Linked DNA regions of Homo sapiens: regions 2 and 3 are each linked to region 1. Evidence: promoter capture Hi-C in human tissues and cell types (Jung and others, 2019). All regions are on one chromosome and are shown on one strand. The core of a region is centred on a gene start or on the middle of the fragment in contact, and the rest is flanking DNA. Distances in the headings are between cores, read along the strand shown. Region 1 holds the start of SEC24C (SEC24 homolog C, COPII component). Region 2 has its middle 13 kb from the start of USP54. Region 3 overlaps USP54 (ubiquitin specific peptidase 54).

Evidence for each region. The method cuts DNA at HindIII sites, captures the fragments that hold promoters and counts their contacts. A contact is called where the count stands out against the background at its distance.
Region 2: a contact is called between a fragment that was not itself captured here and the fragment with the promoter of SEC24C in region 1, in 2 of the 25 tissues and cell types used here (hippocampus and mesenchymal stem cells).
Region 3: a fragment that was not itself captured here is called in contact with the fragment with the promoter of SEC24C in region 1 in 2 of the 25 tissues and cell types used here (IMR-90 fibroblasts and bladder).

Annotation. Positions count from the first base shown.
Region 1 is chr10:73,742,451-73,746,050 of GRCh38, reverse strand. SEC24C (SEC24 homolog C, COPII component) reads right to left here and starts at 1,679. Exons shown (of 23, transcript NM_198597.3): 1 at 1,614-1,679. LOC124902453 (a long non-coding RNA gene) reads left to right here and starts at 1,786. Exons shown (of 2, transcript XR_007062195.1): 1 at 1,786-1,834; 2 at 2,840-3,087. RefSeq lists enhancers at 1,164-1,730, 1,631-2,060, 1,731-2,298, 1,138-2,337. The HindIII fragment of the contact is 12,749 bases long and covers 1-3,600 here.
Region 2 is chr10:73,602,162-73,606,066 of GRCh38, reverse strand. It overlaps a transcript of USP54 not described here. Among named protein-coding and RNA genes, the nearest start is that of USP54, 13 kb to the right of the region's middle. The HindIII fragment of the contact is 5,507 bases long and covers 1-3,905 here.
Region 3 is chr10:73,579,669-73,583,420 of GRCh38, reverse strand. The region is part of intron 1 of USP54 (ubiquitin specific peptidase 54); the gene reads left to right. Among named protein-coding and RNA genes, the nearest start is that of USP54, 9.8 kb to the left of the region's middle. The HindIII fragment of the contact is 5,223 bases long and covers 1-3,752 here.

The sequences.
Region 1 (3,600 bases), core at 430-2,929:
GTAGCTGGGATTACAGGCGCGTGCCACCACACCCAGCTAGTTTTTGTATTTTTAGTAGAGACAGGTTTTCACCCTGTTAGCCAGGCTGGTCTCGATCTCCTGACCTCGTGATCCACCCACCTTGGCCTCCCAAAGTGCTGGGATCACAGGTGTGAGCCACCACGCCCGGCCAAAACCGAAGCATTAAAATCAATAAAAGTTGGCCAGGCACAGTGGCTCATGCCTGTAATCCCAGCACTTTGGAAGGCCAAGTCGGGCAGATCACTTGAGGTCAGGAGTTCATGACCAGCCTGGCCAACACGGTGAAACCCAGTCTCTACTAAAAATACAAAAACTAGCCGGGCATGGTGGCACACGCCTGTAATCCCAGCTACTTGGGAGGCTGAGGCAGGAGAAATCGCTTGAACCCGGGAGGCGGAGATTGCAATAAGCCGAGATCGTGCCACTGCACTCCAGCCTGAGCAATAGAGCAAGACGCCCTTTCAAAAAAATAAAAAATAAAGGACACCTGAAAACTCTAGCAAGGTAACAGATTAAAACCAAGTGCAGAACAGGCACCAAAACTTCTTCACATAATCTGAGGAAACAGTTCAAGAATCAGGGGCAAAGTTAGAGTTAGATTTCATGGAAAAAAATCATTCACCTCATCCCTCAAGCAGAAGACTATGAATATTCTAAATTCCAATGCACTTCTCCAACTCTCCTGTTTCTGCTCCCCTTACGATTGTTATGAATCTCAGCCACCATCAAAATTATTACAATCTTGCTCATCAACACAGGGATGAATTAGAGGGCCTTTTCTAAACAGGGTCCTTCCAAGAAAACTATCTCATCACATCTACTTTCAACAGCTGTATCATTCCAATTATCCTGTAGACAGAAGGGGCCCAGAAAGCAGGAGCACTCAGAGTTGCTGCAAAGGGAACAATGGACCTCTCCCCCTTTGCTAGAAGGGCCACCTTGACTATAGAAAAGGAGCTGATCCTGGTCTAAAACTCTTTAAACTCAAAGTTATCTCAATAGCTGTTCTTCCAAACCCTAAACCTTACAGAGGTAGGTCACTGACACTAAGTTTAAAATATGTCCTCTCCCTTTATGTTTCCAAAGCCGGGGGGAGGGGTAAAGAAAGGAGCTTCTTCTCCAGAAAATAATCCCCTCAAACACATTCAAGAGCTTGGAGTCAGACTGAAGTCTCGACTCCATTCTGGGTGGATAGTCGAGGGTGACAACCCAAGGGGGCGGGGCAAGCTTCCTAGAACTCTGAAAGTAGTCAAGCCATGGAGCCTCGGAGAGCCGAGGATCAAAACCGAGAAGCCAAGTCGGCTTCTAGGGCCACGTTAAGAGAGGGGGCTGCTCTGTTAAGCACAGAGACCAAACGTCTTGCACCTTTTAACAGGCTCGGGGCAGGAAGCAGGAGCCGGAATCTGGGCCGGGAGACGAAGGGATGGTCTAGGACCTGCTCCTGGATGGTGGATGCGTGAGGTGAGGGTCTCTACCCAGGCCCCGCCCCCAGGCTCCTCCCTTCTTTCTGAAACCGGACCCCAATCTGGCCAGTAATACCCTGACCTCTCCTTTGCTTTCCTACCCGCCAACCTCCCGATGCCACTCCTCACCCGGCTCCAGATCCAGGTTAGACTTCGTTCCTAACGTCAAGGCTCCCAGGCTCCACTTCCGGTTCCGAGGGGGCCGTCCCGTCACCCCCGGAAGTTCCTCCTCCACGCTTTAGGGCCGGGCCACTTCTTCTGCCACGTCTGCATTTCGGGGACCCGGATGCCGCGCATGCGCCTCTTTCATCTTCCCATCATGGCCGCCGCCTGTGCGCCTCTGCTGAGTCGTATGTATTTCCCTCCTGACATTTTTTTTCAGATGTTCCAGTCACTTTATGGCCTCACCAACAGAAATGAGATTAAAAAGAATTTGTCAAACTATCTTTAATAATGCCCCTTCACTCTGCCTGTGACGTATTAGTGACCTCTGAGCTAGAGTCTTGTAGTCACTTCCTGGTGACCCCTGACCCCGTTGATTTCCGTCCGCTAGGTTGCTCTCACCCATGGCGTTTGCTGGTTATGAGATTTGCGGAACGTGTGGTGGTGGTAAAGGGCACCAACTGTTGTCAACCTGCATGTGGGGGTCTGAGGTCTGGCTCTACAGCTTGTAAAATGGAAATAATAATGCCCAGAGGATGAAATTAGGCCACATAGGCCGCTTGGCATCATAGTAAGCACTCAGTAAAGGTCAATTGTTATTAACCATTTTTATACAGCGCCTTTGTTTAGGTGCAGAGCTTTATCAGAGCCAAAAGATCTCTGCGCTCTGTTGGAAAAGATAGTTCCTGCAGTAATTATTAGTACCCCATTTAATGGCTAAGTAATTATAGCTAACAGTGCTAGGATTTCTTTTTCATATATGACTTCATTTGAACTTTTCAGTACTATTTGTTGATTTCATAATTTTTCGAGCACTGCTGTTGAAACTGCCTTTGCAAAATTACAACTGAGGAAATTATGATAGTGGAAGAAATCAGACTTAACCGACTCCATCTTGCTTCTAACCTTTAAGCTGTCCTTATTCATTCCTGGGTGTAGGTGGAACTAACTTTGGGGAGGAATTCAGTTTATGGTTTGAAACAAAATTGATAATAGCCCCTTCCCGAAAAGACCCCCTTCTTGCCTGGGGACCAGTCTGTCTTTACAGGACTAACAAATTAGCTACAAGATTACAAATTACAGTTTAGGGGACATGCAGCCTCTCGCTCCAAGAGTCTGAACCTCCCCAAATTGCTTTTAGGAATAACATAACTATTGTAAAACCTAAGATTAGTGCTTGAGATGTTTTGCAGACCCTGCACTCATTGGATCAGCTGACTACCTAGACCAGTAACCTGGCTCAATCAGTTCTGCCATTCCACCCAGGAACAGAAAACAGCAAGAAAACCTCACTTTGACTCCCTGTGATTCCGTCTTCAACCTGACCAATCAGCACTCCCCGCTTCCCAAGCTCCTACTCGCCAAATTATCTTTAAGAACTCTGATCCTCAAATGCTCAGGGAGACTAATTTGTGTAATAATAAAACTCTGGTCTCCCACACAGCTGGCTCTGCGTGAATTACTCTTTCTCCATTGCAATTCCCTGGTCTTGATAAATCAGCTTTGTCAAGGCAGCAGGCAGGGTGAACCCACTGAGCGCTGACATTGTGTGCCAAGCCATGTTCTTGGGTCTGGAAATAGAGCAGTGAACAAAAGTGTTTGTTCTCATATTATTGACAGTAAATATCAGTTATTCTGAGGCACAGAGTGGTTTATTCACTGAAAAATTTGCACTTTAGGCTGTGCTGGAAACTATATATTAGGCATTGAGCATGCTTTACTAAACAAGCAGATTGTTCTTGTCCTCTGTTTTGTTTTGTGACAGTCTTGCTCTGTCTCCAGGCCGGAGTGCAGTGGCCCAATCTTGGCTCACTGCAACTTCCGCCTCCTGGTTTCAAGCGATTCTTATGCCTCAGACTCCCGAGTAGCTGGGATTACAGGCATGCGCCACCACCCCAGCTAATCTTTGTATGTTTGGTATAGACAGGGTTTCACTATATTGGCCAGGATGGTC
Region 2 (3,905 bases), core at 631-3,130, 140 kb after region 1:
GGCTGGGATTACAGGACTGTACCACCACGCCTGGCTAATTTTTGTATTTTTAGTAAAGACAGGGTTTCACCATGTTGGCCAGGCTGGTCTTGAACTCCTGACATTGGGTGATCCACCCGCCTTGGCCTCCACAAGTGCTGGGATTACAGGTGTGCGCTACCACACCTGCCCACCCTGTTTCATCTCATAAAACTGAGACTCCAAATCCATTAAACACCCCCCGATTCCTCCTTCCCCAAAGTGCCTAGCCACCACCATCCAACTTTCTGTTTCAATGAATTTGACTATTCTTCATGCCTCATATAATGGAGTCATTGGTATTTGTCCTGTTGTGACTGGCTTATTTCACGTAGTATAATGTCCTCAAGTTCATCTGTGTTGTAGCATGTATCAGATTTTCCTTCCTTTTTAAGGCTGAATCAGTTCTATGTATGTACCACATTTTGCTTACCTGTTCTCTTAGGTGGCTCCTACCTGTTGTCTATTGTCAATAATGTTGCTATGAACATGGGTATACAATTATCTCTTTATTTATTTTTTGAGACAGAGTCTTGCTCTGTTGCCCAGGCTGGAATGCAGTGGCACAATCATGGCTCACTGCAGTATCGATATTCTGGGCTCAAGTGATCCTTTCACCTCAGCTTCCCAAGTAGCTGAGACTACAGGCACACACCACCACATCCAACTAATTAAAAAAAAAATTGGCTAGGTGCAGTGGCTCACACCTGTAATCCCAGCACTTTGGGAGGCCAAGGTGGGCGGATCATGAGGTCAGGAGATGGAGACCATCCTGCCTAACATGGTAAAACCCCGTCTCTACTAAAAATACAAAAAATTAGCCAGGCATGGTGGCGGGGGCCTGTAGTCCCAGTGAGAGGTGAAGCCAGCTGGACCTCCTGGGTCGAGTGGGGACTTGGAGAACTTTTCTGTCTAGCTAGAGGATTGTAAACACAGCAATCAGTGCTCTGTGTCTAGCTAAAGGATTGTAAATGCACCAATCAGCACTCCGTGTCTAGCTAAAGGATTGTAAATGCATCATTCAGCACTCTGTAAAAATGGACCAATCAGTACTCTGTAAAATGGACCGATCAGCAGGACGTGGGTGGGGACAAATATGGGAATAAAAGCTGTCCACCCCAGCTAGCAGCGGCAACCCGCTTGGGTCACCTTCCACACTGTGGAAGCTTTGTTCTTTTGCTCTTCAAAATAAATCTTGCTGCTGCTCACTCTTTGGGTCTGTGCCACCTTTAAGAGCTGTAACACTCATCGTGAAGATCTGCGGCTTCGTTCTTGAAGTCAGCGAGACCAAGAACCCACTGGAAGGAACCAACTCTGGACACACCAGCTGCTTGGGAGGCTGAGGCAGGAGAATGGCGTGAATCAGGGAGGCGGAGCTTGCAGTGAGCCAAGATTGCACCACTGCACTCCAGCCTCGGCAACAATGCGAGACTCTGTCTCAAAAAAAAAAAAAAAATTTGTGGAGATGGAGTCTCACTATGTTGCCCAGCCTTGTCTCAAACTCATGAGATCAAGCAATCCTGCCTCAGCCTCCCAAAATACTGGGATTACGTGTGTGAGCCAATGTGCCTGGCAAGTTATCTCTTTGAGAGCATACTTTCAGTTCTTTTGGATATGTAACCAAAAGTAGAATTGCTGGATCATATGTCATTTTATTTTAATTTTGAAGAACTATCATACTAATTTTCATACTGGCTATACCATTTGACATTCTTACCAATGTGCACAAGGATACCAATTTCTCCACGTTCTTGCCAACACTGTTTTTTTTGTTTTGTGTGTGGTTTTGTTTTGTTTTTTTGAGATGGACTCTCGCTCTGTCGCCCAGGCTGGAGTCAGTGGTGCGATCTCGGCTCACTGCAACCTCTGCCTCCTGGGTTCAAGCGATTCTCCTGCCTCAGCCTCCTGAGTAGCTGGGACTACAGGTGTGCACCACCACACACGGCTAATTTTTGTATTTTTAGTACAGACAGGGTTTCACCACATTGGCCAGGCTGGTCTCGAACTCCTGACCTCATGATCTGCCCCCTTCGTCCTTCCAAAGTGCTGGGATTACAGGTGTGAGCCACTGTGCCTGGCCACCTTTTTTTTTAATAGTAGCCATCCTAATAAGTGTGAGGTGATATCTCACTGTGGTTTTGATTTATTTTCCCTAATGATTAGTGAACTTGAGTGTCTTTTCCTGTGTTCATTGGCCATTGGTGTATCTTCTTTGGAGAAATGTCTGTTCAAGTTCTTTATTTTTTAATTGTATTTTGTTGTTGTTGACTTGTAGTTTTTTTTTTTGTTGTTTTTGTTTTTGAGACAGGGTCTCACTCTGTCACCCAGGCTGGAGTTGAGTGGTGTGATCTCGGCTCACTGCCACCTCTGCCTCCCGGGTTAAAGTGCTTCTCCTGCCTCAGCTTCCCAAGCAGCTGGCATTACAGGTGTGCGCCACCACGCCTGATTAACTTTTTTGCATTTTTAGTAGAGACAGGGCTTAATAGAGACAGGTTTAGTAGAGATGGGGTTTCGCCATGTTGGCCAAGCTGGTCTCAAACTCCTGGCCTCAAATGATCTGCCCGCCTTGGCCACCCAAAGTGCTGGCATTACAGATGTGAGCCACTGCACATGGCAGGAGGTCTTTATATATTGTGGATATTAGCCCCTTATCAGAATAATGATTTACAAATATTTTCTCCCATCTCATGGGTTGTCCTTTCTCTTTTCCTTTGATTCACAGTTCTGTTTTTTAAAAATTTTATTATATATTTTCTAAGACATTTAAAAGAATAACACAGTAAACATCTTTATAATCGCCATCCAGCAAATTAAATATTAGTAAATTGGTTTGCTCCCGAGTTTCCCCTTATTGATTACAAGTCCCTCACCAAAGGTAACCACTAATGAATTTGATTTTTCTCTGACATAGTTTATACTCCTTAGACAGCCTGTTAGCGTATTAGAAGCTTGTGATGACTGAAGTAAAAATACTGCAAAGGTCCTGGGGAAGGCTAATTAGGGTGGGATGAGTTCTTTCTTAGATTTTTGTGATGCTGTTTTCAAAAGCCCAGTTCAGCACCCTATCAGAGATACTTGCACATAATAGGTGTATAGAAATGTTTGTTGAATAACTATTTGGAACCCATGTACTTCTGATTGAAGATATTTTGTACCACTATTATACTATTTTTTTTTTTTTTTTTTTTTTTTTGAGACAGAGTCTTGCTCTGTCGCCCAGGCTGGAGTGCAGTGGTGCGATCTCAGCTCACTGCAACCTCCACCTCCTGAGTTCAAGCAGTTCTCCTGTCTCAGTCTCCCAAGTAGCTGGGACTACAGGCGCACACCACCACGCCTGGCTAATTTTTGTATTTTTATTAGAGACAGGTTTTCACCTTGGTCAGGCTGGCCTTGAACTCCTGACCTCAGGTGATCCACCCGCCTTGGCCTCCCAAAGTTCTGGGATTATAGGCATGAGCCACAGTGCCTGGCCACTATTATACTATTTTTTTTTTTTGAATCAGAGTCTTGCTCTGTTACCCAGGCTGGAGTGCAGTAGCATGATCTCAGCTTACTGCAAGCTCTGCCTCCTGGGTTCACGCCATTCTCCTGCCTCAGCCTCCTGAGTAGCTGGGACTACAGATGCCCGCCACCACGCCCGGCTAATTTTTTTATAATTTTAGTAGAGATGGGGTTTCACAGTGTTAGCCAGAATGGTCTTGATCTCCTGACCTCGTGATCTGCCCACCTCGGCCTCCCAAAGTGCTGGGATTACAGGCATGAGCCACCGTGCCCGGCTATTATACTATTTTTTCATGAAGTGAAGTTTACATATCTCTGTATTAGGATTACTGTATACTTTACCAATAAATAGACTGCTATGGCAGAATAAAGGTTTTCTTAGAGGT
Region 3 (3,752 bases), core at 624-3,123, 160 kb after region 1:
CCAGCTACTCCAGAGGCTGAGGCAGGAGGATTGCTTGAACCCAGGTGACTGAGGTTGCAGTAAGCCAAGATCGCGCCATTTTACTCCAGCCTGGGTGACAAGTGAGAAACTTTGTTTCAAAAAAAAATTTTCTTTGTTTTGTAGAGACAGGGTTTCGCCATCTTGCACAAGCTGCATTGTTCTTTTTCTGTTCCAGGATCCTATCTGGAATCTCACATTGCATTTTAGGTGTTTTTCTTCCTTACTCTTCTGTATTCTGTAAAAGTTTCTTAGTCTTTCTTTGTCTTTTATAACCTTGACATTTTTGTAGAGTATTGATCAATATCAGTTTGAGGGCTATTTGTCAAATATTCCTTAATTTGGATTTGTCTGATATTTTTCTGATGATTGGACTGAGATTATGGTTTAGGCAAGAATACCACAGAAATAATTGTGTCCTTTTCAGTGCATCATATCATGGCATTCATGATGTCAATATGTATTATTACTGGTTATTTTGACCTTGATCACTTGGTTAAGGTAGTTTCTGCTGGGTTTCTCCATTGTGAAACTACTATATTTTCCTTTGTAGTTAATAAATGCCTTAGTGGAGATACTTTGATACTGTCATTTTTATTAATGTCATGGAGTTCTCTACACATGCAATTAATAGTGTCTCCTTAAAGACTTTATTGAACTTTAGTTACTGTGAAGTCAATTAGCTTAAAGAGTCCATCTCCTTGGATGGGCGCAGTGGTTCACGCCTGTGCCACCGCATGGTTCACAACTTTGGGAGGCCGAGGTGGGTGGATCACTTGAGGCCAGGAGTTCAAGACCAGCCTGGCCAACATGGCGAAACTCTGTCTCTACTAAAAGTACAAAAATAGCCAGGCATGGTGGCGCATGCCTGTAATCCCAGCTACTCGGGAGGCTGAGGTAGGAGAATTGCTTGAACCCGGGAGGTGGAGGTGGCTGTTGCAGTGAGCCAAGATCGCATCACTGCACTCCAGCCTGGGTGACAGAGCGAGACTCTGTCTCAAAAAAAAAAAAAAGTCCTTCTCCTTAGAAACTTCCCACACTTTACACCTGGTTTTATCAAAGGGTTCCCAGGCTTTGCACGAACAAATTCTATCTAGTCTTCATTGATTTCAGTTCCATTCTAGCTCTGCTCATAATGAATCTCTTATGCTAATAACCTGTAGCTCTCTGGGCCTCATTTACCCCTCTGTCTCTTAGGGCGCCAGGCTCCTCCTGGCCCAGTGTCCTTCCAGGCCTCATCTCCCTTTATGCACAAGCCAGTTCCTTTGAATGACTGCTTTGGGTTTTTTCCGAAACAGGCTGAGAGAAGCTGACTTTGTTGGTGAAGAATACAGTGGGGGATAATTAGGGTGGCTGCAGCTGGAGCCTGGTTTATTACTTTGGCCTGAGAAAAATGGTAGCACATTAAGCTGTACTGTGTATACTTGTGAAAGAATCATTCTCTGTATTTCACTAATACAGAGAAAGTGTTTTTTTCTAAAGGTCACCAGCTTCTAGAGGTATGTCTTTAATTCTGGCAACCTTAATCTGTAATGATCTTTTCAATTTAGCCCTGTTGACTGTGGAGTTACTTGCTGTGAGCACAAGAATCCAAAATCCAAATGTGGACCAAATATTATATTTAGATCTATTTAGTTCAAACAAATTTTATACAGTGAATAACATTAGATGTTTCTTTGATTAATAAAATACAAATTTATTAGTATTACTGAATTCAAAGTAGCTTTTTGAATTATGTATTTTCTCAAGTGACATATACTATAAAAGCCCCATTTATGTAATGTGGATGGGGCAGACTTAGATTCTCTGACACTTGAAGCTTATGCAATTCAGAGGGCCTCCTTTAAGGAAAATATTTTTTGAAACAGAAAATGAGATATTGGGCCTTGAGAATCTGTGCAAGAGAAAGAGTCCTGAAGCTTAAGTTTCAGTGGCTTGGTAAATCTGCCTCTGGATGTGAGGCACTGCAAAAAGGTTGAGACCCACTGTTTTCCATCATTTCATACATGGAAAGGTTTTTGGCTTACCCACAGGAGGCTAGTGTTTTCAGATTGGGAACAGTGGGACATATAACTTAGTAACTGTGTTACACAAGGAAATACGTAATAAGATGACATGCTTCCATCCCAATTTTGGCTTTTACTTTCCTAGAAGTTTACCATGTTGCCCACGCTCACCTCGAACTCCAGGCCTCAAGTGATCCACCAGCCTTGTCCTCCCATTCTGGGATTTTAGGCATGAGCTACCATGCCCAGCCCAATTTTTTATTTCTTTATGGTAAAATACCTAGGAGTAGGATTGGTAGGTAAAAGTATGGCAAAAGTGCAGCCATGTTTTGCTTAACAACAGGGATGTGTTCTGAGAAATGTGGTGTTAGGTGGTTTTGTCATTGTGTGAATATCATTTAAGTGTATTTGCATAAACCTAGATGGTATAGCCTACTACACACCTAGACTATACGATATAGCCTACTGCTGCTATGCTACAAACCTGTATAGGATGTTACTGTACTAAATATAATAGATGCCAGGCACGGTGGCTCACACCTGTAATCCCAGCACTTTGGGAGGCTGAGGCGGGAGGATCACCTGAAGTCAGGAGTTGGAGACCAGCATGGTCAACATGGTGAAACACCATCTCTACTAAATACAAAAATACAAAAAATAGCTGAGCGTGATGGTGCGTGCCTGTAATCCCAGCTACTCGGGAGGCTGAGGCAGGAAAATCGCTTGAGCCCGGGAGGCAGAGGTTGCAGTGAGCCAAGATCACACCATTGCGCTCCAGCCTGGGCAAGAAGAGCGAAACTCCATCTCAAAAATAAATAAATAAATAAATAAAATAAGCAATTGTAACACAATAGTAATAGATGTGCACCTAAACATATCTAAACATAGAAAAGTTACAGTAAAAATAAGGTAAGTCCCATAATCCCATAATTTTATGGGACTACCATTGTATATGCGGTCTCTTCTTGACTGAAACATTGTTATACAGCTCATGACTATATATTTAAGTTTAGAAGTAACTGCCAAGTGTGTCATTTTGCATTTCTTTTTCTTTTTCTTTCTTTTTTTTTTTTTTTTTGAAATGGGGTCTTTCTCTGTTGCCTAGGTTGGAGTGCAGTGGCTTGATCTCGGCTCACTGCAATGTCCACCTCCTGGTTTCAAGCAATTCTCCTGCCTCAATGCCCCCTAGGAGCTGGGATTATAGGTGCCTGCCATTGGCTAATTTTTGTATTTTTAGTAGAGACAGGGTTTCACCATGTTGGCCAGGCTGGTCTTGAACTCCTGATCCAAGGTGATCCACCCGCCTCAGCCTCCCAAAGTGCTGGGATTACAGGCGTGAACTACTGCACCTGGCCTGTTTTGCATTTCCATAAACAATGTAGGAGAGTTCCAGTTGCTCTGATTCCTCATCGGCACTTGTTATTGTCAGGTTTAAAAAGTTTTTTTGTTTTTGTTTTTAACTATTCTAATAGGTGTATAGTGTAGTTTTAATTTCCATTTCCCTCATGGCTAATAATGTTGAACATCTTTCCATGTGCTTATTTACCATTTGTATATCTTGTTTGGTGAAATGTTCAAATCTTTTGCCCATTAAACAAAATTGGGTAGTTTTTTTTTGTTGTTGTTGTTGTTGTTTTTTTGAGATGGAGTCTTGCCGTGTCATCCAGGCTGGAGTGCAGTGGTGCAATCCCAGCTTACTGCAACCTCCACCTCCCGGGTTCAAGCGAT